Regions from separate parts of the Homo sapiens genome. Here all the other regions are linked to region 1. The links are contacts of gene promoters, found by promoter capture Hi-C in blood cells and fetal thymus (Javierre and others, 2016). All regions are on one chromosome and are shown on one strand. The core of a region is centred on a gene start or on the middle of the fragment in contact, and the rest is flanking DNA. Distances in the headings are between cores, read along the strand shown.

Region 1 (2,974 bases), core at 309-2,808:
ACTTCTTGTCCCAAGTATCCACTGGCCTCCCAATGACTGTCATTAATATCTACTGACACCCCCCCCCCCATGAACATCCAAGGGACCCCGACTGGCTTCCAATGAATTCCCTATCACCACCATCCTAAACAATTACCTCCCTGAGAATGCTCAAAGATGAAACTGATAAATGATGAACATGAATCTCACAGTGACCCCTGCGGACCCCACGATAAATCAAACAGCCCTAGCTGCTGATCCCCACAGAGCCACTTTGATCGCTCCATCACTTCAGCCAAGGTCAGCAAACGACAGCCTGTAGGCCACACACACACACTAGAATAATTCATGACACATGAACATTACATGAAATTCTGATTTCTTTGTCCATAAATGGTTTCTTTGGGACACAGCCACACTATATTGTCTGCTTTCATGCTGCCACAGCTGAGTTAAGCAGCTGGGGCAGCGATAGCAAAGCCAAAACCACTTCCTACCGGGACCTTTAAGAAAGTGTGCCCTTAAATACTCTGATAGCCCCTAGTGAATTAAATTGACCACCTGACATCATGCCCCTGTTGACCCTTCAGAGACTCAGGCACACATCCAGGCCCCAATGCTACCTTTCAACCCCTCAACGACCTCAAACTGGTGTCCACTGACGCCCCTTCCAGTGACACCCCTCTTAATTCTTCCGACCTCGGCGAGAAGGGGGCTAACCTAGGCCTGTCCTTGAAGAGACCCAGGTGCCAGTCCATTCTCTCCAGCCTCCCCTCGGTGATCCCGGAAGCTGGAACGGCGGCTCTCCTCTGACCTCTGCACACTTTCTGAAGATGGGAGTGTCAGGGCAGGCAAAAAAGAGAAGCTCTTCGTTCCCCAGAACCCACTTCCAGTGCCTCAGTTCTGTTTCCCAGCAGGCTTGTGCAGGTCGAGATGCTCACACAGGACTGACCCTGGTGCCCCAGCGCATCCGGGAAAAAGGAACCACAAATTCCTCGGGAAATACACAGAGAAGATCCCGCTGCCACTTGGCCTTTCCCACGGCGTGGCTGCCCCTCCCCGGCCTCCCTTGGGCCCGGCTGGAGCGCACAGCGCGGGACGCCCCCGACCCGGGGTCCTCTGGCACGAGGGGCAGCCTGATCTCGGCGACCGTCTCCACCCAAGGCTGCTGCCCGCCCCAGCTCGGACTCCGCGCGGCCTGGCTCCCAGGGGACGGGCGGGAGGGCCCGGCGAGACCGCTCGGCCGTCCACCCAGAGCCGGCACCCGGAGGTCGGCCCCTGGGCGCGGATCCCGATCTGAGGGCGGGTCCCAAGCGGCAGGGAGCGAACCTGGGACCGTGCCACCCCCCCACCAGTGGGCGCGGCAGCCGAAAAAAAGGGGAAGCGCCGGCGCTGGACTCTGCTCAGGGCAGCCCGCGAGGACCTAGGGCTCCGGCCACAGCGGCCCGAGCGCCCGGGGTGGGGCTACGCGGGCTCAGAACACGGTGGCTGGGGCGCCCTGCCCGCCGCTGCGCGCTTCCATTGGCTGCCGAGGCAAGGGCGGGGACTCAGTCACCGGCCTCCGCCTCCCGCGGCGTCCACACTCGCCGCGCGCGCGGCGGCCGGGCTGGACCTTGCTGGCCCGCGGCGCCATGAGCCGCAGCCTGGACTCGGCGCGGAGCTTCCTGGAGCGGCTGGAAGCGCGGGGCGGCCGGGAGGGGGCAGTCCTCGCCGGCGAGTTCAGCGTGAGTGGCACACGGGGTCCGCGAGCGGCGCGCCCCGGCCCTGGCCCTGCGTACGCCTGTCCTCCGCGCACGGCGGGCTCTGCCTTTCTGTCTCGGTGTCCCCGGTGTCTCCCCGCCTCGGGGGGTCTCTCCGTGTTTCTCTCCCCAGCACTTCTCTGTCGCTCTTGCTGTCTCCGTCTTCACTCTCTGCCCCCCGGCCCCGGAGCGCGACGTCCACGGCCAGGCCGGGACGGACCGTGCACACCCTCGTTCCCGGTGTCCTCGTCGCGCTCCCGGAACAACCTGGCTGCGGGCGGGACAGGTGGGGCGGGCGCCGCAGGGGAGGGCGGGCGGCCCTGCTGCGCTGGACAGCCCCGGCCCCGCCGCTTCTGGCGACCTGACTGTCCCCTGTGACCACAGGAAGGAAGGGGCTGCAGCAGGGCGAAGAGGAACACGGAGGCTGTGGCGTGGTGAGGGTGTGAACGCCGGGCTCGAATCCGCGTCCGGGCCCGAATCCGCTTCCCGTCCCGAATCCGCGTCCCGGCCATCCGCGTGTGGTCCAGGCGGTCTACCTGGCCCCTCTGACCTCGGCTTCTCCCTTGGTGAAATGGGGACATGAATGACCAAACTGGTCTAAGGATTAAATGATGTGGGTGAAAAGCACTTAGTACATATTGGGCGCACACTTCGTAGGGGCGTTCGTCACTGCCTATAAAGATTCTAAACGTGGGCCAGGTGCGGTGGCTCACACCTGTAATCCCAGCACTTTGGGAGGCCGAGGTGGGAGGATCGCTTGAGCTCAGGAGTTCGAGACCAGCCTGGGCAACACAGCGAAACCCCGTCTCTACTAAAAATACAAAAATCAACTGGGCATGGGCGCATGCCTGTAATCCCAGCTACTAGGGAGCAGAGACAGGGGACTCGCTTGAACCTGGGAGGCAGAGGTTGCAGTGAGCTGAGATGGTTCCACTGCACAGCTGAGATGGTGCCACTGCACTCCAGCCTGGGCCACAGAGTGAGATCCCATCTCAAACAAAACAAAACCAAACAAAAAATCTAAACGTTACAATACAGGTAGTGCAAGCCCAGCATTAGGAAGGCTCACGCAGAATGCTAGGCACTGTACATTACAGTTGATGACGTGTTTAAAGTGTAATCGCTTATGTACCAGACATAGAAACATACCATACAAACGCATAAACTGATATATGGTGACATGTATCAAGTTTAGAAATATGACAAATATATAAAAGTATTATAAATGACCGTTTATACAATAAACATTGCATAAC
Region 2 (2,974 bases), core at 269-2,768, 2.3 Mb before region 1:
AAGTGTTTATTATATTTATTCTAGTTATATTCCCTGGGAAAATAATCAGTATGTTTCCCAAAACTCAGATAGCATGTCAATATCGAGCTGAAGTATGGTATGTATACTTCCCATTTCATCACAGAGAAAACAAAGAAAATGTGTATTCAAGAGATTTAATAATAATTTATATTGCCTCTTCACAGACAACCTTAAGTGAAACTAGCTGCTGTTTTTTGTTTCTGTTAACTGCAAGTGTGCACAGTGGTAAAGCACACAGGGAACAGCAGTGTGATGCCACTGCCTCAGCTCTGACGAGGCTCGGACACTTTGCCTTCCAGTCTTTGTTCCATTAGAGCAGACGTCGACATTGCCAAAGGGACACATTATGAACCTTAACCTTAAACCTAACCCTGCACTTTTCACCCTGCAGACCCCCATAAGGGCCTGTGAACCACATTTGGAGAACTGCTGAGTTATGCTATAACCAAGCAAACCTGGTCTTGCGTTTGCTAACTTGATTTTGCCAACAATCTCCAATTGTTGTAAAGTCTCCAATAAAAGGTAAAAATTTCTAGTCAAAATTCATTTATTACCTCACAACCTATTAGAACTTAAGGGTAAAAATAAATTAATCTTAGCCATGTGGTGGCTCACACCTGTAGTCCCAGCCACTCAGGAGGCTAAAGTGGGAAGATCGCTTGTGCCCCAGAAATCTGAAACCAGCCTGGGTAACCCAGTGAGGCCCCATCTCAAAAAATAATTATCATCATCATTTTATTGTTACATAAGTTAAAAAACTGAGTAAAGATCATCACTGAACTTTAAAAATATTCAGTATTAATATTTGTGACTTATGTATTAAAAATAAAGACCATGTTGCAGATAAGCAGTCTAATAATAAAGACCATGTTGAGATTATCAAAGCTTGGGCAGTTCCTCAATATATAGGACAATTTTAGACCATATTAAACACTTTAATTGCATAAATATACACACTTGTAATACAACTATAATAAGCACATATTAAACCATGCTAAAAACATGGATTGCTCTAAGTTTATTTCTACTGTCTTGCGATTTTTTTTCTTTTTCTTGAGACAGGTTCTCGCTCTGTCACCCAGGCTGGAGTGCAGCGGCGCAATCTCAACTCATTTCAACCTCTGCCTCCCGAGCTCAAGCCATCCTCCCATCTCAGCCTCCTGAGTGCCATCCTCCCATCTCAGCCTCCTGAGTGCCATCCTCCTATCTCAGCCTCCTGAGTGCCATCCTCCCATCTCAGCCTCCTGAGTGCCATCCTCCCATCTCAGCCTCCTGAGTAGATGGGACTACAGACGCATGCCACCACACCTGGCTAATTTTTTGTATTTTTGTAGAGACAGGGTTTCGCCATGTTGCCCAGGCTGGTCTCAAATTCCTGGACTCAAGTGAACCTACCACCTCAGCCTCCCAAAGTGTTGGGTTTATAGACATGAACCGCAGCACCTGGCCTTTTTTTCTTTTTAAATAAAAGAGGTTTATTTGGTTCACGGTTCTGCAGACTGTTGTTCTGCAACTTTAACAAGCTGATTCTAGATACATTCTGTGTTACGTATTTTACCAAATGTATATCTACTACTACATTTTGAGAGTTTGAACAAAACTTGCAAGTCGTTACCTCGAGGTAAATGAGAAGCTCCAATGTGAAGAGGGGGCCCAGGAGCATTGCTGCGGATGATAGACATTTGCACATTTGTAGTCATGATGTGATGCAGGTTACTGGGATGGCCCTGAAAGAAAGAGGATAGAACGTTATTTTTACATGTTTGCTCTTAGCCATTGCCTCTAGGAAGTCACCTGCCTCCAAATGTGGGTCAGGTTGTTTTTTAGATAGTGAGTATCCCAAGAGAAAGGGCTAAGGACATTCAGCTTGAGCTACTTTTACATGCCATACCGTACAATGAACTGTGCTAACAGGCATGTGAGAAGTATGAGGACCCCACAACTGCTGCAGGCCCACATAATTACAGATAATATACTTCGATATCTACGTTTAGAAACTCTCATCTGCGATATTACCTTTCACACTTGTTTTCCCTGTTCTGGCCAAATGCTTATTTTTTTTCCCATTCTCACTATTTCCTTTACATACCACTGCATCCATCCATTCTTTAAGCTTTTTTGTTTCTAAGTAAATGTCAGTTGGTATCCAACAGGTGCTCCCTACCAGTTCTTCAGCTCAACCCTGAAATGTCCCTTACATTCTCCCAAACCACAGAGTTCAGGGCTTCTCAGCTAAGGGTTCTGGTACTTCTGAGAGTACTCAGCAGTATGACAAAAGGAAAAAACACAGTACACCTCTTTGGGATATAAATTTTTCTTGAAAATGTGAAGGGAAAGTTTTTAGATTTAGTTTTTTTCCCCAGGTAAAAAATGTAAAATATTTAATTAATCAGGTACACAGCAGAGTAGGATTGCAAAATTTCACAAAAAAACCTTAAAACAGAAGACTTCAGAATAAATGTTCGCAACTAAGGCTGGGTGCGGTGGCTCATGCCTGTAATCCCAGCACTTTGGGAGGCCGAGGCGGGCAGATCATTTGAGGTCAGGAGTTGGAGACCAGCCTGGCCAACATGGTGAAACCCCGTCTCTATTAAAATAAAAAAATTAGCTGGGGGTGGTGGTGCCCGCTTGTAATCCTAGCTACTCGGGAGGCTGAGGCAAGAGAATGGCTCGAACACGGGACGTGGACGTTGCTGTGAGCCAAGACTGCACCACTACACTCCAGCTTGGGTGACACCGTGAGATTCTGTCTCAAAAAAAAAAAAAAAAAAGTTTGGAACTAGAGAGCTGCTTGAGGTAACCTATCCCAAGAGATGCACATCTGCTCTCCTCAGAGAAACCACAGAGCAGCACTGCCTACCCCCGGAAGGCAGTTCTTGACGCTAAAACCAAACACGAACCGGACTCCGGACTCCTCAAGGACACGGACTGTTTTATCTAGATTTATATATCA
Region 3 (2,974 bases), core at 264-2,763, 2.3 Mb before region 1:
GGTTTCTATAGTTGCCCATGCTGTAAACAACTCATCCCACCCTTGCTGCACCCTGACATGCCTGACAGGCCTAGACATGCATTATGTCATAAAGGATAGCCTTCCCCTTCCCACCTAGATAGCTGTGTTCAATTTCAAAGATTAGCCAATCAGGTCAGTTTAGACTGTGCGGTCCCACCCCAGCCAATGAAGACAGAACACAGCAGTAGGAACCAATTGCATTAGGGATAAAAACCCCTGCCCCACCCTGCTCAGTGTGCTCTTGCAATCGTGACTGGCGCAAGCTGCACACTTCTGCGGAAGTAAATTTGCCTTGCTGAGAAAATTTCTGTTTGAGTGCTATTTCTTTTGCAGCACTGAAGCTTGTTTCTAACAAATTTGGGGGTTCGTCCAGGATTCCCATTCTCCTCTGGGGAAGGGTCCAGTCCTCTCCTGTGAGGAGGTGTGCCCTGCTGCCTCATTGCAGTGGACTCAGGGGTAAGGAATCAAGACCCACCTGGTGTGACGAATAAACCTGGACTCTCAGCAATGCAGGAAAAAACAGACCAACAACTTGGGAAAAAAAAAGAAAAAGATCATCATATACCATGGCAACCAGGTAACTCTGTGCACAGACCAAGGTAAGAAACATTACTGGGTTGACAACGTATTTCCTTGATTGTTGGGAGATCTTGGAGGTTGAAAGCTGTAAGTGTGTGAATAAGCACTACTAGCGTGCAGAGTGAGTTGAGTTCAATCTGTGGTTCCATGGTCACCTCATATGGCGGCCTTTCGAGGGTCCCATCAGGGGTTTATACTGATTCGCCAACGTTAAGAGGGACCCGATGTTCCCTTTGGGGAAGTGGCCAGAGAGGATGAAATGAAAGGAAAAGAGTGCAAGAAGCCCCCACCAGGGAGGGTTGAGCCTCTAGAGAAAAGGAAGGCAAGAAATCCCTAATACGAGGCATTGAGCCTCTAGAAGAAAGGAAAGGTGAGAAATCTCCAGTAGGGGGCACTGAGCCTCACACAAACCTCTAGTATTAGGGAAGGCAAAAAAATTTCCAGTAGGGGAAGTTAAGGTTCACCCCAAAACCATCAAGATTGGAAATACCCCAAGTAAGACAGGAAGTAAAAAGGATAAACCTAACAGCAATGATATTCCCCTTGATAGTCCCTTAGGTCTCATGTTAAAGTATTTGAAAGATAATAAAGGACTAAGCATAAGATAAAGCAACGAATGATAAAATAGTTTTATTTGGACCCAGGAACCAATCCTCAAACCCTCAGTTTTGTGGACAAAATTTGGGTCAAATGAGTACTGGATTTGTCAGCTTCTAATAGAACATGTTAATATCAAGAGTCTTGTTTCCCAAGAAGAGATAGATTATGCCTTGTTTTGGTGACAAGGACCTGTTCTTCTCTACCCCCCAAAACTCTAAAAGATAAGCGTAAGCCAGAGAATGTTTCCCCTAAGGAAACTGAAACTCTTAACCCCAAGCAATCTACACCTCGGACCTGCTAAATCACCTTCCCCCACCAAACACTCCTAACTTTCCTCCCCCTCAAGCAGCTGCTGTCCCAGACCCTTCTCCTACCCCCGTTGTTCCCCCTCCTTATAACCCTGCCTCTTGGGAATCATCCCAAGAGCCCAATCACTACCAGCCTAAGTACCCTTCCCTAAAGGGACTTCAACGTGAAATAGAGAAATGTAAAAAAGATATTCAAAACTTCCCCAAACTTTCCCTTCCCCTCTGCCTTAGGGGAATCAGCTCCAGCTCTCTTCCCCTTGAGGGAGGTGCCCCTAGGAGGAGGAGGCATTGGCTTTGTAAATGCTCCTTTAACCAGCTCAGAAGTACAAAACCTAAAAAGAGAGCTTAAGCCACTATTAGACAACCCTTACGGGGTAGCAAACCAAATTGACCACTTTCTAGGACCACAGTTACATACTTAGGCTGAGCTAATGTCCATCCTAGGCAACTTCTTCTCAGGAGAAGAAAGAAGCATCATTCGTAGAGCTGCTATGGTAGTCTGGGAACGTGAACACCCTCCTGGCCAAAACGTTCCTGCAGCAGATCAAAAATTCCCCTCCCAAGACCCCTGGTTGGACAATAACAATGCAGCCCACCAAGAAAATATGCAAGACCTTAGGGAAATGATAATAAAAGGAATTAAAAATCAGTACCCTGAACCTAGAATCTTACCCAGGCATTTCATATTCAGCAAGGGAAAGATAAAGGGCCTATAGAATTTTTAGACAGATTAAAAGAACAAATGAGAAAGTATGCAGGTCTAGATCTCGAGGATCCTCTTGGGCAGGGAATGTTAAAACTTCATTTTCTTACTAACAGTTGGACAGATATTTCAAAGAAATTACAAAAGATAGAAAATTGGAAAAACCGTCCCATGAGTAAACTTCTTAGGGAGACTCAAAAGTGTACGTAAGAAGGGACGAAAAGAAACAACAGACAAAGCAGAAGGCAAAACTTCTGCTGTCAACCGTACCACACAGTACTCAGGGGGCGAGAACCTATAAAGAGCCTAGGCCCCCACTTTCCAAGCCATATAAAGAGCACCAAAAAGCGAAGCCTTCGAACTTAAAATTAGAAAAGGAAGAAAGGATCTCTTTGAAGGCTATAATGCTTTGAAAACTGTGTTGGCAGTGTGGCATGACTGTTTAAAGTAGATAAAAGCTTGTCCTTTTACCCCATCCCGGCATGACTGTGAAGCTGGCAAGGAAAGAGGAAGAAAGGCAAGTTCGGCTGCAAGCTGGGCGGCTGGGACAGGTTGGCTGAGGGACCACTCTGGAGGGCTCTTGCGCCCGGCATTGCCCACTTCAGCCCAGCTGTGTGTTTACGGCAACCAGAGTCCCTGCAAAGGTGTGGCTGGCTGCAGTCAGGGCCTACTAGGACCGTCAGCACACTCCCGTCAGCGGCTCAGCTCCTCTCTGCTAGGCCAACTAATAGTGCTTTGTCCTGGGTAGGACATAGGGGCTGAG
Region 4 (2,974 bases), core at 302-2,801, 2.3 Mb before region 1:
CACATTGACCCTGTGAGGCAGATACTATTATTCCTACTTTGATAGTCTTCGAGACTAAGGGCCTGGGAAGTTAGGTAACATATATGTGGTTAAACTGCTAGTACGTAGCAAACTCAGGAATTGATCACAGCTGCCCTGATGCTAAAAGGTTCCCTTTTTTTACAAACCGTGTCTATTGTGTCCTGTAGAGCAGGTTTCTGAGGCTGCAGTCTGTGGGCCTGTGGGAAAGGGTGTCTATGGTTAGTCCTAAGAGAATGCTTTTTTTTTTTTTTTTTTTTTTTTTTTTTTGAGACGGAGTCTCTCTCTGTCGCCCAGGCTGGAGTGCAGTGGTGCGATCTCGACTTACTGAAACCTCCACCTCCCGGGTTCAAGCGATTCTCCTGCCTCAGCCTCCTGAGTAGCTGGGATTACAGGCACCTGCCACTATGCCTGGCTAATTTTTGTATTTTTAGTAGAGACGGGGTTTCACCACATTGGACAGACTGGTCTTGAACTCCTGACCTCAGGTGATCCACCCACCTCAGCCTCCTAAAGTGCTGGGATTACAGGCGTGAGCCACTGCGCTGGGCCAGTCCCAAGAGAATTCTTAAGTTGTACATAAAATTTGGGTCCTTGTTTGCTCCTCTGTGGGAAATGTCAGTAACTTTACTAGATTCCAGAAAAGGCCTATATCCTCTTCACTCAACCAGCCAGGAATCACTGCTATCAGGTTTCATTGTGTAAAATCTAGTTTGGTTATCTCTAATTTCAGTAGGTTTCATTTTTGTGTGTGTATTCTTTCATTTCTGCAGCCTCTATAGCAGTTTTTACAAACGTTGATTTTGAAAAACACTTCTGAGTGTTTTTATTTATAAGTGGGATGTTCTTCTTCTTCTCCTTCCTCTTCTTCTTCCTCTTCCCCTTCCCCTTCCCCTTCTCCTTCCCCTTCCCCTTTACCTTCCCCTTCCCCTCCTCCTTCTCTTCCTCCTTCTTTCTTCTTTCTTTCCTCTTCCTCCTCCTCCTCTTCCTCCTCCTCCTCCCCCACTCTCCTCCTGTCCTGCTCTCCTCCTGTCCCGTAACTCCTCCTGTCCCGCTCTGTTGCCCAGATGCAGCATGGACCTCCTAGGCCCAAGCTATCTTCCCACCTTAGCCTCCCAAGTAGCTGGGACCATAGGTGCATGCCACCATGCCTGGCTGATTTATTAATTTTTTTTGGTTTCCAAAGAAGCTGGCAGTGCCTGAACTTAAAATGCTTCTGAAAGCCACTTTTCTATTTGTTATAATTTATTTTGCTTTTGACCATCGTTCTTCAGAGATACTGTATGTTCTATGAAGCAGGATGTTAACACAAATGATGCTTTTTATAAAAAGCAGCTATTGACTAGTCCCCAATGTGGACAGCCTCCCTCAGTGATAGATTTTGTAACCAATATTAAAGAACTGGGATGAGACCGAAGTGAGCCTTACCAGAGCTAACATTCTGAAGCCCAAGGATAGCTTAGTGCTTCCCACATATTCACACCCCCTTTTAGTTCTCATTCAAATGGGTAGAGCTCAGGGGAGGTCCGATTAGGGTTCTGTTAGGTGGACTTTGGAGATGAAAATCAGAGAAATCTGCAGCTGGAGACCTTTTTCTGAAACTGTCTGGATGCTGTCTGAGAGGATCTTGACAGGCTTGGAGCGGCTGCGGAGGGTGTCAAGAGGCCTGCATTCTGTGGCCATCCACTTTGCCAGTGACCCTAGATCCCTCATTTTGTAGATGGGACAGTTGGCTTGGGAAGCCACTAAAATTTTACATTTCTTTATTTCAGAACCTGTCTGAGTTTACATTTGGGACCCATTATGTTAGTTTCCTAGGGCTACCACAACAAAGTATCACAAACTGGGTGGCTTAGAACAATAGATATTTACTGTCTCACAGTGCTAGAAATCCTTACTCAGGGTTTCACAGGACCACGTTCCCGCTGAAATCTTTGGAGGAAGAATCTTTCTTTGACTCTTCAGCTTCTGGTAGTTTCAGGCATTCCTTAGCTTACAGTATAATTTTAGTGTGTGCCTCTGTCTTCACCTGGTGGTCTCCTGTGTCTCTACATAGTTTTCCCTCTGTGCTGTCTTTCTCTGTCCAGATTTCTCCTCTTTATAACATCAGTCATTGGGTTAGTGCCCACCTAATAACCTTGTTTTAACTGATGACCTCTGTAAAGACTGTATTTACAAATAAGTTGACATTACGAGGTACCGGGGGATAGGATTTCCATATCTTTTTTGGGGGACACAGTTCAACCCTTAATACCTATCATTTATATTTTCATCTATCTCAGCTTTATTTGCTTTCATCCTTTATAAAATATGGTTGTGTGCAACCTGGTGTGCCACCAACTGATTTTTATACCCCTGTATGGTGTAGATTGCTTGGGAAATGAAGCAGAGCCTTTGTAGGAAAGAATGTAATAACCTAAGTGCCTTCAGTTACATATCAGTCACTCAGCAAATATCTGTTGGACTAGCTAGATATTAAGTGCTATTATATGTCAGAAGCATTTCTGTTTCGCTAACTTATGTTATTTTGTGTCTCCAAGTATTATTAGGATTGTTATTTTGTGTCTCCAAGTATGAGGTTAAAATTACCTTGTAGCAGGCCAGGCATGGTGGCTCATGCCTGTAATCCCAACACTTTGGGAGGCTGAGGCGGGCAGATCACGAGGTCAGGAGTTTGAGACCAGCCTGGCCAACATTGTGAAACCCTGTCTCTACTAAAGATACACAAAATTAGCAGGGTGTGGTGGTGCGTGCCTGTAATCCCAGCTACTGGGGAGGCTGAGGCAGGAGAATCGCTTGAACCTGGGAGGCAGAGGTTGCATGAGCCGAGATTGCACCACTGCACTCCAGCCTGGGCGACAGGGCGAGACTGCGTCTCAAAAAAAAAAAAAATTTCCTTGTAGCAAAACTTCTTTTCTTTTTTTCCTTTTAGGAGTTTGCTATAAAATGGGAGTTC
Region 5 (2,974 bases), core at 197-2,696, 2.2 Mb before region 1:
CTAATTGGAGAAGGGACATATGCAAAAAGAGTGAAAATGACCTTTTATTTCTGTTAAGGGTTTAAAAGGTGATATTTTGTTAGACCTGAAAAATAAAAATCAGTTTTCTTACGTATTTTCTCTTTTACCCCTGCTTCCTCTGTAGGAACAGGAAGAGCTTACTCCACTGGTTGGACTAGGGAAGGGAGAAATGAGTTAAGGGGATCTCTTTGAGATTGTCCTCCAGTTGACAAGTGACAGGAATGGGAATAGGATGAATTCAGCCATTAAACTGACACATACTTATATGATAGCTGTGTGAGATATGTATGTTTCCATCAACCTTGTGTCTTTGATGTGTGACTTCAGTAGGGATAGGGGCCATGTTGTGAAGTTGTTCAGTAAACATGGAACTTAATATACTTCACTCACGCATTTCTATAAATCTTATATTATGATCAAGTCAGGTTATCAGTTGAATATTAAGAATAGATTGAACTGGAACTAATATATACGTATTTCATTTTTTCTCCCAGATAACTTCTTTGTGGATGATTATGCTAGATTTACTATCTTGGATTCCCAAGGCAAGACTGCTGCTGTAGCCAATAGTATGAACTATCTGACAAAGAAAGGTAATCCATTTGAGGCTTATTATCTTGCATTCAACATTTTTTTGAAAGTATTTGCATATTCATCTTAATGTGCAAATTAAGAGAGAAAAGGGAAAGAGACTTCATAATTTTTCTTATTTCTTATAAAGCTTTGAGTCTAGAACATATCTATTTAAAGTTTAATTCTTTGTATATTTGTTGAAAGTATATATTTGTTTAAAAATTCAGATGTCTTCATAAATTTTGTATTACCTGTTTTACCTTTTGACTAAAGTCAAAAGGAAAAATATTTCATAGTTCAAATGGAAAAACATTTGTGATGTAAAAATGGGTTAATGAATTAAAAATGACTGTACAGGGTTAATATTATTTTGGGGTTTATAAGATAAAGTTGGTTTTAGAAAGCCTTGTATAATCTTTGAAGCTGATTTTATGCAGAGGTATTTATTTAGGCTAAGATTGTGTAAAATGACGCCCTGTAGTGGCGGACAGATTCTGTCGCCCTCGGGTCAGTGCTTCAGAAAAGCACTGGCTGTTATTTTAAGTCAGCTATTTTTACCGCCTTTTTAAATCCCCGCTGTGGTCTCTCCCCAAGAGAAGTTCTGGTTTCTCAGCTGTATGTAAAGTACAAGCAATTACTCCATTTGGTTCTTTAAAGAAACTGTTTCTTAGGGTACTGGGACAGCGCCATGACACCGACAGGACTAAGCAGCAGGAAGAACCATAGACCGTGTTAGCCATTGTTTAGACTTTCAATTTTTACAGTAGGCATTCATTCCAGAAATGATACTTTTTTTCTACTCTTTTCTCTTTACCTTTGTTCAGGAATGTCCTCCAAGGAAATCTATGGTAACTTAAAACTTCAGAATGTTCTATTTCTTAATTTTCTTCTTTGGTTTCAGTGACCATTGTAATTTAGAATTTATCAACACTTAATTGTACTGTTTCCGGAATCTGTGGGTAACAGGAAGCTATATCAATGTAGATAATTTTTTTTTTTTTTTTTTTTGAGACAGAGTCTCATTCTGTCACCCAGGCTGGAGTGCAGTACCATGATCTCGGCTCACTGCAAGCTCCGCCTTCTGGGTTCAAGTGATTTCAAGTGATTCTCCTGCCTCAGCCTTCCAAGTAGCTGGGATTACAGGCACCCGCCACCACGTCCAGCTAACTTTTTTGTATTTTTAGTAGGGATGGGGTTTTACCATTTTGGCCAGGCTGGTTTTGAACTCCTGACCTCAAGTGATCCACCCTCCTGAACCTCCCAAAGTGCTAGGATTACAGGCGTGAGCCACTGCACCCGGCCAATGTAGATAAATTTTGTATAAACATTTGTAAAGAATTAGTTTCAGAAAATTACAAATTAGTATGATTAAAAATGACAATATGTTACCCACATGTTCAAAGGCTGTTTTTCATTTTACATGCTAACAGATGCCCAGACCAGTGCATTAATCAGTAGAATTAATCAGTGCATGTTCCTAGTCTGTAACTAAACTCTGTGGAAGATTCCCCTGCTTTCCTATAGTAAAGGTTTACGACTTTTTCTTCTATCTTTATTAAGCTTGTCATTTTCTTCTTTTTGCATGGTTCTTACAAATTATTTGGTCAATTTCATTTTCAGAATGTTGAAACACAGAATGTGCTTCTCTCCTCTGACTCAATTAGCTGTTTTTGTTTTTCTACAGATGATTCTTTTATTAGGCCAGTAACTTTTTGGATTGTTGGGGATTTTGATAGCCCTTCTGGACGGCAGTTACTGTATGATGCCATCAAACATCAGGCAAGTATCTATGACTTCATTTTATATTTTTGTTTGTGGCTGTAGTTGTCTTCATGGGCTTCGCTGTGCGGCTAGGATTGTTCAGTGGGAGTTGGGAGTCCTGCTTTCTTAATGCTCGAGGGAACGGAGAATTGTATCTCTAGAGATCTGCCAGCTCTCAAGAAAAGAGATCTAAGACTACAGTATCCAGGCTTTGTTGAACGGGATAGATTCTTATAGAGAAAAAAATAAATAGCGAGATCCTCATCATAGACAAGTTTTATTGCATACCTGTTCATGTTCTTGGAGCAGAGTTGCTCCAACAATTGTGTTGTGTACTGTATCGGGGAGATGGGGTCCTTACCACGACAGAGGTCTGGACATGGGGGCAGTAGCACACAGGAATGGTAGTGTGTGTGTTTAGTAGAAGTAGATCCAGATGCACTGAGGGATACACACATAGGTGTTCTGAAAAGATATGCTGCCATTAATAGTTGGGCTTGAGTGAGTGGCAATGGCAGGTGGTTGGGAAGCAGCTGATTCTTCTGGAGAGTGTCATCGTTAGAGGATGAGATGTCAAAATTCTTTTTCCTGGGCTGTTTCAGTTTGCATCTTCATCCAT
Region 6 (2,974 bases), core at 124-2,623, 2.2 Mb before region 1:
TGTGACCCTGACAGCCATCCATGTGAACGAGTGGCCTCCGTTCAAGTGATTGGATTTTGGCTTGCAGGTGGACAGTATAGTGGCTGCTGAGTATGAGCTAGAGTACCTGTTACTAGAAGGTCATTGCTACGACATCACCACAGGCCACCACTGAGCACTCCTCCTCAGTGCTGTCCTTGTTTGCCTTTTCTTGCATCTGCAGCAACCACAAGGAGGCATCATAAGGTCAAAGATGGTTTTGGAAACACTTTTCCCAATCTGGAAGGGTACTCCTCCAAATCTAATTTGTTTTAACCAGTTGTTACCTGTGTAAGGGCTGTGCACTCAAGTCCTGTTGTCACATCGAAAATTATCTAACACTTTCCTTTTCAATTTCAGCTTTTACCGTTATGTCTTAGAACCAGAGATTTCTTTCACTTCAGACAATAGTTTTGCTAAGGGTCCAATCGCAAAATTTTTGGATATGCCTCAGTCTCCACTGTTCACTCTGAATTTGAACACACCTGAGAGCTGGATGGTAGAATCTGTCAGAACACCATATGATCTTGATAATATTTATTTAGAAGAGGTAAGACCATATCTATTGCTTCCAAATACCTAATCATGTATAATACAGCAGATTGAATCATAGTCTAGGTGGGCCTCTGAGACATCAGTGTTCAGGTATGATATTTTTTTAAACAACAGCTTTATTCACATGGAACTCATATACCATAAAATTCTCCCCATTAACGTGTACAGTTGAGAGGTTTTAGTATCTTCACGGAGTTGTGCAGCCATCACCACTATGTAATTGTAGGATGTTTTCAGCATCCCCAGTGAAAGCCCCATACTCATTAGCAGTCACTCTTCATTTCCCCAGCCCCTGGCAACTGCTGGTCTACTTTGTATCTCTATGGATTTGCCTATTCTGACATTTTGTCTAAATAGAATCAAATGTGGTCTTCTGTAACTGGCTTCTTTCACATAACAAATTGTTTTCAAGATCCATCCATGCTGTAGTATGTATCGACGCTTCACTCTTTTTAACTTGCCAGATAATATTTTATTTATGGACATATCACGTTTCATTTATCCTTTCACGAATGGACATTTGAGTTGTTTTCACTTTTTGGTTGTTATGAATAATGCTGCTATGAATGTTGTGTGCAAGTTTTTCTACTGATACGTGAGTACAGGATGTCTTTGCATTTAGGTCTTTAATTTTTTTCAACATTTAGTATCTTATCCTCGTTCGTATTTTTAGAATAACGTCCTTATTGTTTTTTTCTCCTTTCTCTTTCCAACCTAGTTTTTATAATTGTATACAGTCATTAACCACCACTATAGCCACGATGCAGAACATTTCCATTACCCCAAAAAGTTCTTTTATACCCCTTTGCAGACAGTAGCCTCCTCTCGCCTGGTTTCAGGCAACAACTGATCTGCTTTCTGTCATTATACTTTTGTCTTTTCTTGAATTTCTTAAAATATGATCATATATTATGTAAGTCCTTTTTGTCTGCTTCCTTTACTTTGCATAATGCATTTCAGATTTATTCATGTTGTCTCTGAGTGCATTCAAGTGATTGGATTTTGGCTTGCAGGTGGACAGTGTAGTGGCTGCTGAGTATGAGCTGGAATACCTGTTACTGGAAGGTCATTGCTACGACATCACCACAGGCCAGCCTCCACGGGGACTACAGTTTACCTTAGGAACTTCAGCCAACCCGGTCATTGTGGACACCATTGTTATGGCCAATCTGGTAAATAATCTGTTCATCAGATAGTGATATTGTAGTTACGTTAATTTGGGCACTATAATTTATGATGGAGCAATTAGCATTCTTAACCATAGAGTGAGATTAAAATTCATTATGGGCTGAATTTGGTCAATATAGAAATCATTAGTTCAGCTAAATTTGTAGGTTAGAATTACATGTCAAAAGAAAAAACATGCTGGAATACTCAGCTATAACTGAATTGGCCCCCTGAAAATAGATTGCTCATGAGCTGACAGCCTTTTTCTTTTCTTTGGAAGTGCAACACTTATTCATGCATCACACGTTGATTCTTCCCTGAAGCACAGCTAAAGAGCAGATGATTTATTGGTGTGACTGGCCTTTATTGTACTAGTTTTTTTTTTTTTTTTTTTGAGACTCCTGCCCAGGCTGGAGTGCAGTGGTGTGATCTCAGCTCACTGCAACCTCCGCCTCCCAGGTTCAAGCAATTCTCCTGCCCCAGCCTCCTGAGTAGCTGGGATTACGGGCACCCACCACCATGCCCGGCTAATTTTTGTCCTTTTTTAGTAGAGATGGGGTTTCACCATGTTAGCCAGGCTGGTCTCGAACTCCTCACCTCAGTTGATCCACCTGCCGTGGTCTCCCGAAGTGCTGGGATTACAGGCGTGAGCCACCGCACCTGGTCTGTGCTAGAGTTTTTAATGTGTAGTTTTGGTTTTTTAAGAGTTGCATTGATTTGTTTACTGTGTTATTCACATTATAGTTGATTGATATTTCAGAAATAGAAGTAACTGTTCCTCAGAAATAACATTTTGGTGTTTTGAAGAGAGCTAACTGGACTTTTCTTCTTGTCCTAGGGCTACTTTCAGCTGAAAGCCAACCCAGGAGCTTGGATCCTCAGACTTAGGAAGGGACGCTCTGAAGATATTTATAGAATTTACAGGTAGGAGTAAGTGATGCAGTTACATTATCCCAGAACTTTTAGAAATGAGCATTAGCTCTAATTGAATACTACCCTGGCAGTTAGCCAGGCAACATGAATTTAATTTGCAGTTGTATGTGATGAAACAGTGGTTTTTCCAGGAAATTAAATATGGAAGAATTGTTAGAATAGAATTAGATAATAAGAGGTATAGATGCTAATGAGTATAGTCAGGCTTTATTCTTTAATTATTCCTTTGTGCTAACAATATCCCAGAATCAAATCATTCTATCAGTGTGATGCGGCTCATAGATAGGCAGATGAGAAACTT
Region 7 (2,974 bases), core at 340-2,839, 2.2 Mb before region 1:
CAGAGGGTGGAATGGCAGCAGCAACTGGAAGAAAATGAGTTTTTTGGTGCCCACACCCAAGAGCACACACATGCTGCACTGTCTCGGAAAGCAGGGCCAGCTAGAGCCACCATGTTCTTCCTTACCTCAGTTTACCTGCGGCCTGCGCTGCACTGCAGATGCCCACCCTGCCCTGGGTCTGGCCGGCGGAAGCTCTGTCCAAGGTCCACACACCTCCAGGTTTACGCCAACATCCTTGTGCCCTCCCCACCTTCTCTTCCAACGCATTAGGTGCATTGTTTAATTGAAATCCAACCAACAATTGTGTGTCAAGGCTGGTTTGGTGCAGTGGCTGGGCAAATTAATTTTGGGCCAGGATGGGGGTGGGTTGCAGTGAGGGTAGGGAAAATGTCAGGAGTAGGAAGGTTCGGGGGTTAAGGGAAGGGAAGGAAGACCAGAACTGGCCATCCTCTTTTATAATCCATTAGTAGCACCATGGCTCATTTGAAATGAAAATATTACACTTATTCCCCACCCAACCGCAGTGAACTTTCTAGGTAATTGTTTTGAAAACAATTTTTGTATCTGTGAAAGTCTTTGCTTTTTCTTTCCACCTTCTAGAAAAGTCTGCTACCAGTTTCCTTACTGAATACAGCCATACTCAGCCCCTCTCGCATCCAGCCCGTCAGGGTCAGGGTCAGGGTCAGGCTCCCTCAAGACGAGCACCGCATTGTCTGCCCTCTTTTGCGTAGGATTTTTCTCTCAGACCCAGGGGACATTGCCTTGGACTTTTCTCTACAAATGCCCTCAGATGTAAGACCAGAAATGATTCTGCTTGTGGAACTCGTGGCTTTCTGTCCTATTTTCCTTTTATGTGAGCCCTGCAGGTTGCCTTTGGCGCCCACACCAGTTCTGTCTTCATGTCGCTGCATCGTGAAGCCCCATTTGCCTTTAGTCCCTGCTTTGTGTGTCTTCACTTCCACAGCCAGTGTTGCCCCTCAGGGCATACTTTGCTGGTGAACGGGCTGTAGAGTCTTGAGTATGTTATTGGCCTAAGTGGGCATGAGGCCCCAGCATCCGACTCCATCTGCCAGGCTGCAGGGCACAGCAGCACTGGCATAGACAGGCACGCTCTGTCTTCCAACGTGCACCAGCCTTTTCTTACATATTTTGCCTGTTTTTAAAAAATACGAGGAGAGGGTGCAGATGGATACTGTGCCCTCACCCTCCTAAGCCAGGTAATATATTGATGTGCAGACTTTTAAGAAATCTTAGTCTTATCACAAATATCAAGTAATTTATTTTTTCCATTTTCAAATGCAAAAGTTAGCCTAGGAAGCCTCCCAGTCATCCTGAAGGACCTTTTGACTTTGCTTTTATAATTCTGTTAAAAATTGAGGAGGGGATTAATGAGTACAATGAAAACAAAACAAAACAAAAAATTAAGAAGAGGAAAGCTCAAAAGAGGATAAGAGACTGAAAAGGCACCTCAGAATGGCTGCTGTGGGCAGAGTCTGTGACATGACTTTCCCCGCCCTGCCCCTCTGTTCAGAGCAGCTGGAAAGATGGGATCAGTAAGATTAAAAAACTTTTGTTCGGCCAGGCGTGGTGGCTCACACCTGTAATCCCAGCACTTTGGGAGGCTGAGGCGGACGGATCATGAGGTCAGGAGTTCAAGACCAGCCTGGCCAATATGGTGAAACCCCGTCTCTACTAAAAATACAAAAATTAGCCGGGTGTTGTGGCTCACCCTCTATTCCCAGCTACTCGGGAGGCAGAGACAGGAGAATCGCCTGAACCCAGGAGGCAGAGGTTGCAGTGAGCTGAGATCGTGCCACTGCACTCCAGCCTGGGTGACAGAGCGAGACTCCATCTCAGAAAACAAACAAACAAAAAGAAACTTTTGTTCAAGCTGCATCTTCACATTGAATGAAAGCATTCAGACGGGTGACTGCTGCTGTCCACAACTGTGGGCGGAAGTGTGCCTTTTCCCAGTTTCTCGTCCAGGAGGTTGCATAGCAAATACTCAAGTCACTGGGATATATGCTTTCCAAATGCTGGCCCCCATAGCACCTTTCCCCATGTCTTTCTACCAAGCCTCTTATGTTTAATCTGTGCAGGGAAGACAAGAGTAGACCATATTCTCTGTGTGCTGTGCATGTCCTGGTGTCACTCATTGCCTCTTATCTGTCGCCATTCTAATATAAGTCAGCTTAATAGTTGACTCTGAATAATGCAAAACCCAGCTTGCTTCCAGAATGGCCTAGGACCCTCCTCCTCCTGCCAGTTTTTTTTTTTTTTTTTGGTTCATGTGGCATAATCATCTTTCAAAATTAACCAAATGCCCCAGAAAATGATGTTACCACTAAAATATTTTCTCCAAGAAGGCATACTGTAACAGAAAAGATAGGTAAGATATTTTTTTCCCAAGAAGTAAGAATTGATTGTGCTGAATGTTCAAACTCTGGAAACTGTTCACAGTATGTTGTTCTTAGCTGTTATTTATATAAAGTGAATTATTTTCTCTCTCAATCATGCCATAGTGGAGACTTTTGTTTGTGAGTAAGTGACAGAGTAATATGAAATAATGTGATATGTCAGAGTGACATGCAGCATCCTGAGCCTGTTTTTATGTTCTGTGTACAGTGGCATTTGATTGAGATCAAAGCCTGTCACAGCCTGCTGCTGGGGGTGTGGGGATATGCCAGAGTCCTGTGTTTGGTTTTAGAAGTTTACTGAATGTTTCCCACATGGAGAATAATGGATGGCATGTTAGTTTCTTTAAGAGTGGTAAAGTTGTACATCTGTCATTGTTGCATTTCGAATTGAACACATAGATGCTTGCCTGTCTGCTTGGGTGAATGCCTCTTGGGAGAGCGAAGATTACGTGCATGATGTATGTTAAGAAACAGTTTCCGGTCAGGCACAGTGGCTTACACCTGTAATCCCAGCACTTTGGGAAGCCGAGGCGGGCGGATTATGAGGTCAAGAGATA

Evidence for each region. Contacts are between HindIII fragments. The CHiCAGO score rates a contact against its expected background, and 5 or more counts as called.
Region 2: a contact is called between a fragment that was not itself captured here and the fragment with the promoter of PTPN18 in region 1, in 1 of 17 cell types (neutrophils). The highest score is 6.1, in neutrophils.
Region 3: a contact is called between a fragment that was not itself captured here and the fragment with the promoter of PTPN18 in region 1, in 1 of 17 cell types (neutrophils). The highest score is 10.4, in neutrophils.
Region 4: a fragment that was not itself captured here is called in contact with the fragment with the promoter of PTPN18 in region 1 in 2 of 17 cell types (monocytes and neutrophils); the score reaches 8.8 in monocytes.
Region 5: a contact is called between a fragment that was not itself captured here and the fragment with the promoter of PTPN18 in region 1, in 3 of 17 cell types (M0 macrophages, monocytes and M2 macrophages). The highest score is 7.0, in M0 macrophages.
Region 6: a fragment that was not itself captured here is called in contact with the fragment with the promoter of PTPN18 in region 1 in 3 of 17 cell types (M0 macrophages, M1 macrophages and neutrophils); the score reaches 7.0 in M0 macrophages.
Region 7: a contact is called between a fragment that was not itself captured here and the fragment with the promoter of PTPN18 in region 1, in 1 of 17 cell types (monocytes). The highest score is 5.1, in monocytes.

Annotation. Positions count from the first base shown.
Region 1 is chr2:130,354,498-130,357,471 of GRCh38, forward strand. PTPN18 (protein tyrosine phosphatase non-receptor type 18) reads left to right here and starts at 1,559. Exons shown (of 15, transcript NM_014369.4): 1 at 1,559-1,703. The coding sequence starts at 1,611. RefSeq lists silencers at 1,139-1,808, 1,949-1,998. The HindIII fragment of the contact is 15,291 bases long and covers 1-2,974 here.
Region 2 is chr2:128,013,167-128,016,140 of GRCh38, forward strand. It overlaps SAP130 (Sin3A associated protein 130), which reads right to left. Exons shown (of 21, transcript NM_001330301.2): 5 at 1,637-1,748. Among named protein-coding and RNA genes, the nearest start is that of SAP130, 13 kb to the right of the region's middle. The HindIII fragment of the contact is 1,228 bases long and covers 905-2,132 here.
Region 3 is chr2:128,036,884-128,039,857 of GRCh38, forward strand. No RefSeq gene overlaps it. Among named protein-coding and RNA genes, the nearest start is that of SAP130, 10 kb to the left of the region's middle. The HindIII fragment of the contact is 2,307 bases long and covers 361-2,667 here.
Region 4 is chr2:128,094,479-128,097,452 of GRCh38, forward strand. UGGT1 (UDP-glucose glycoprotein glucosyltransferase 1) reads left to right here. Exons shown (of 41, transcript NM_020120.4): 2 at 2,951-2,974. Among named protein-coding and RNA genes, the nearest start is that of UGGT1, 4.8 kb to the left of the region's middle. The HindIII fragment of the contact is 7,457 bases long and covers 1-2,974 here.
Region 5 is chr2:128,154,974-128,157,947 of GRCh38, forward strand. It overlaps UGGT1 (UDP-glucose glycoprotein glucosyltransferase 1), which reads left to right. Exons shown (of 41, transcript NM_020120.4): 20 at 516-614; 21 at 1,419-1,442; 22 at 2,279-2,373. Among named protein-coding and RNA genes, the nearest start is that of UGGT1, 65 kb to the left of the region's middle. The HindIII fragment of the contact is 1,412 bases long and covers 741-2,152 here.
Region 6 is chr2:128,172,195-128,175,168 of GRCh38, forward strand. It overlaps UGGT1 (UDP-glucose glycoprotein glucosyltransferase 1), which reads left to right. Exons shown (of 41, transcript NM_020120.4): 29 at 379-568; 30 at 1,587-1,745; 31 at 2,579-2,664. Among named protein-coding and RNA genes, the nearest start is that of UGGT1, 82 kb to the left of the region's middle. The HindIII fragment of the contact is 3,393 bases long and covers 1-2,974 here.
Region 7 is chr2:128,190,001-128,192,974 of GRCh38, forward strand. It overlaps UGGT1 (UDP-glucose glycoprotein glucosyltransferase 1), which reads left to right. Exons shown (of 41, transcript NM_020120.4): 41 at 1-2,974. Among named protein-coding and RNA genes, the nearest start is that of UGGT1, 100 kb to the left of the region's middle. The HindIII fragment of the contact is 4,858 bases long and covers 1-2,974 here.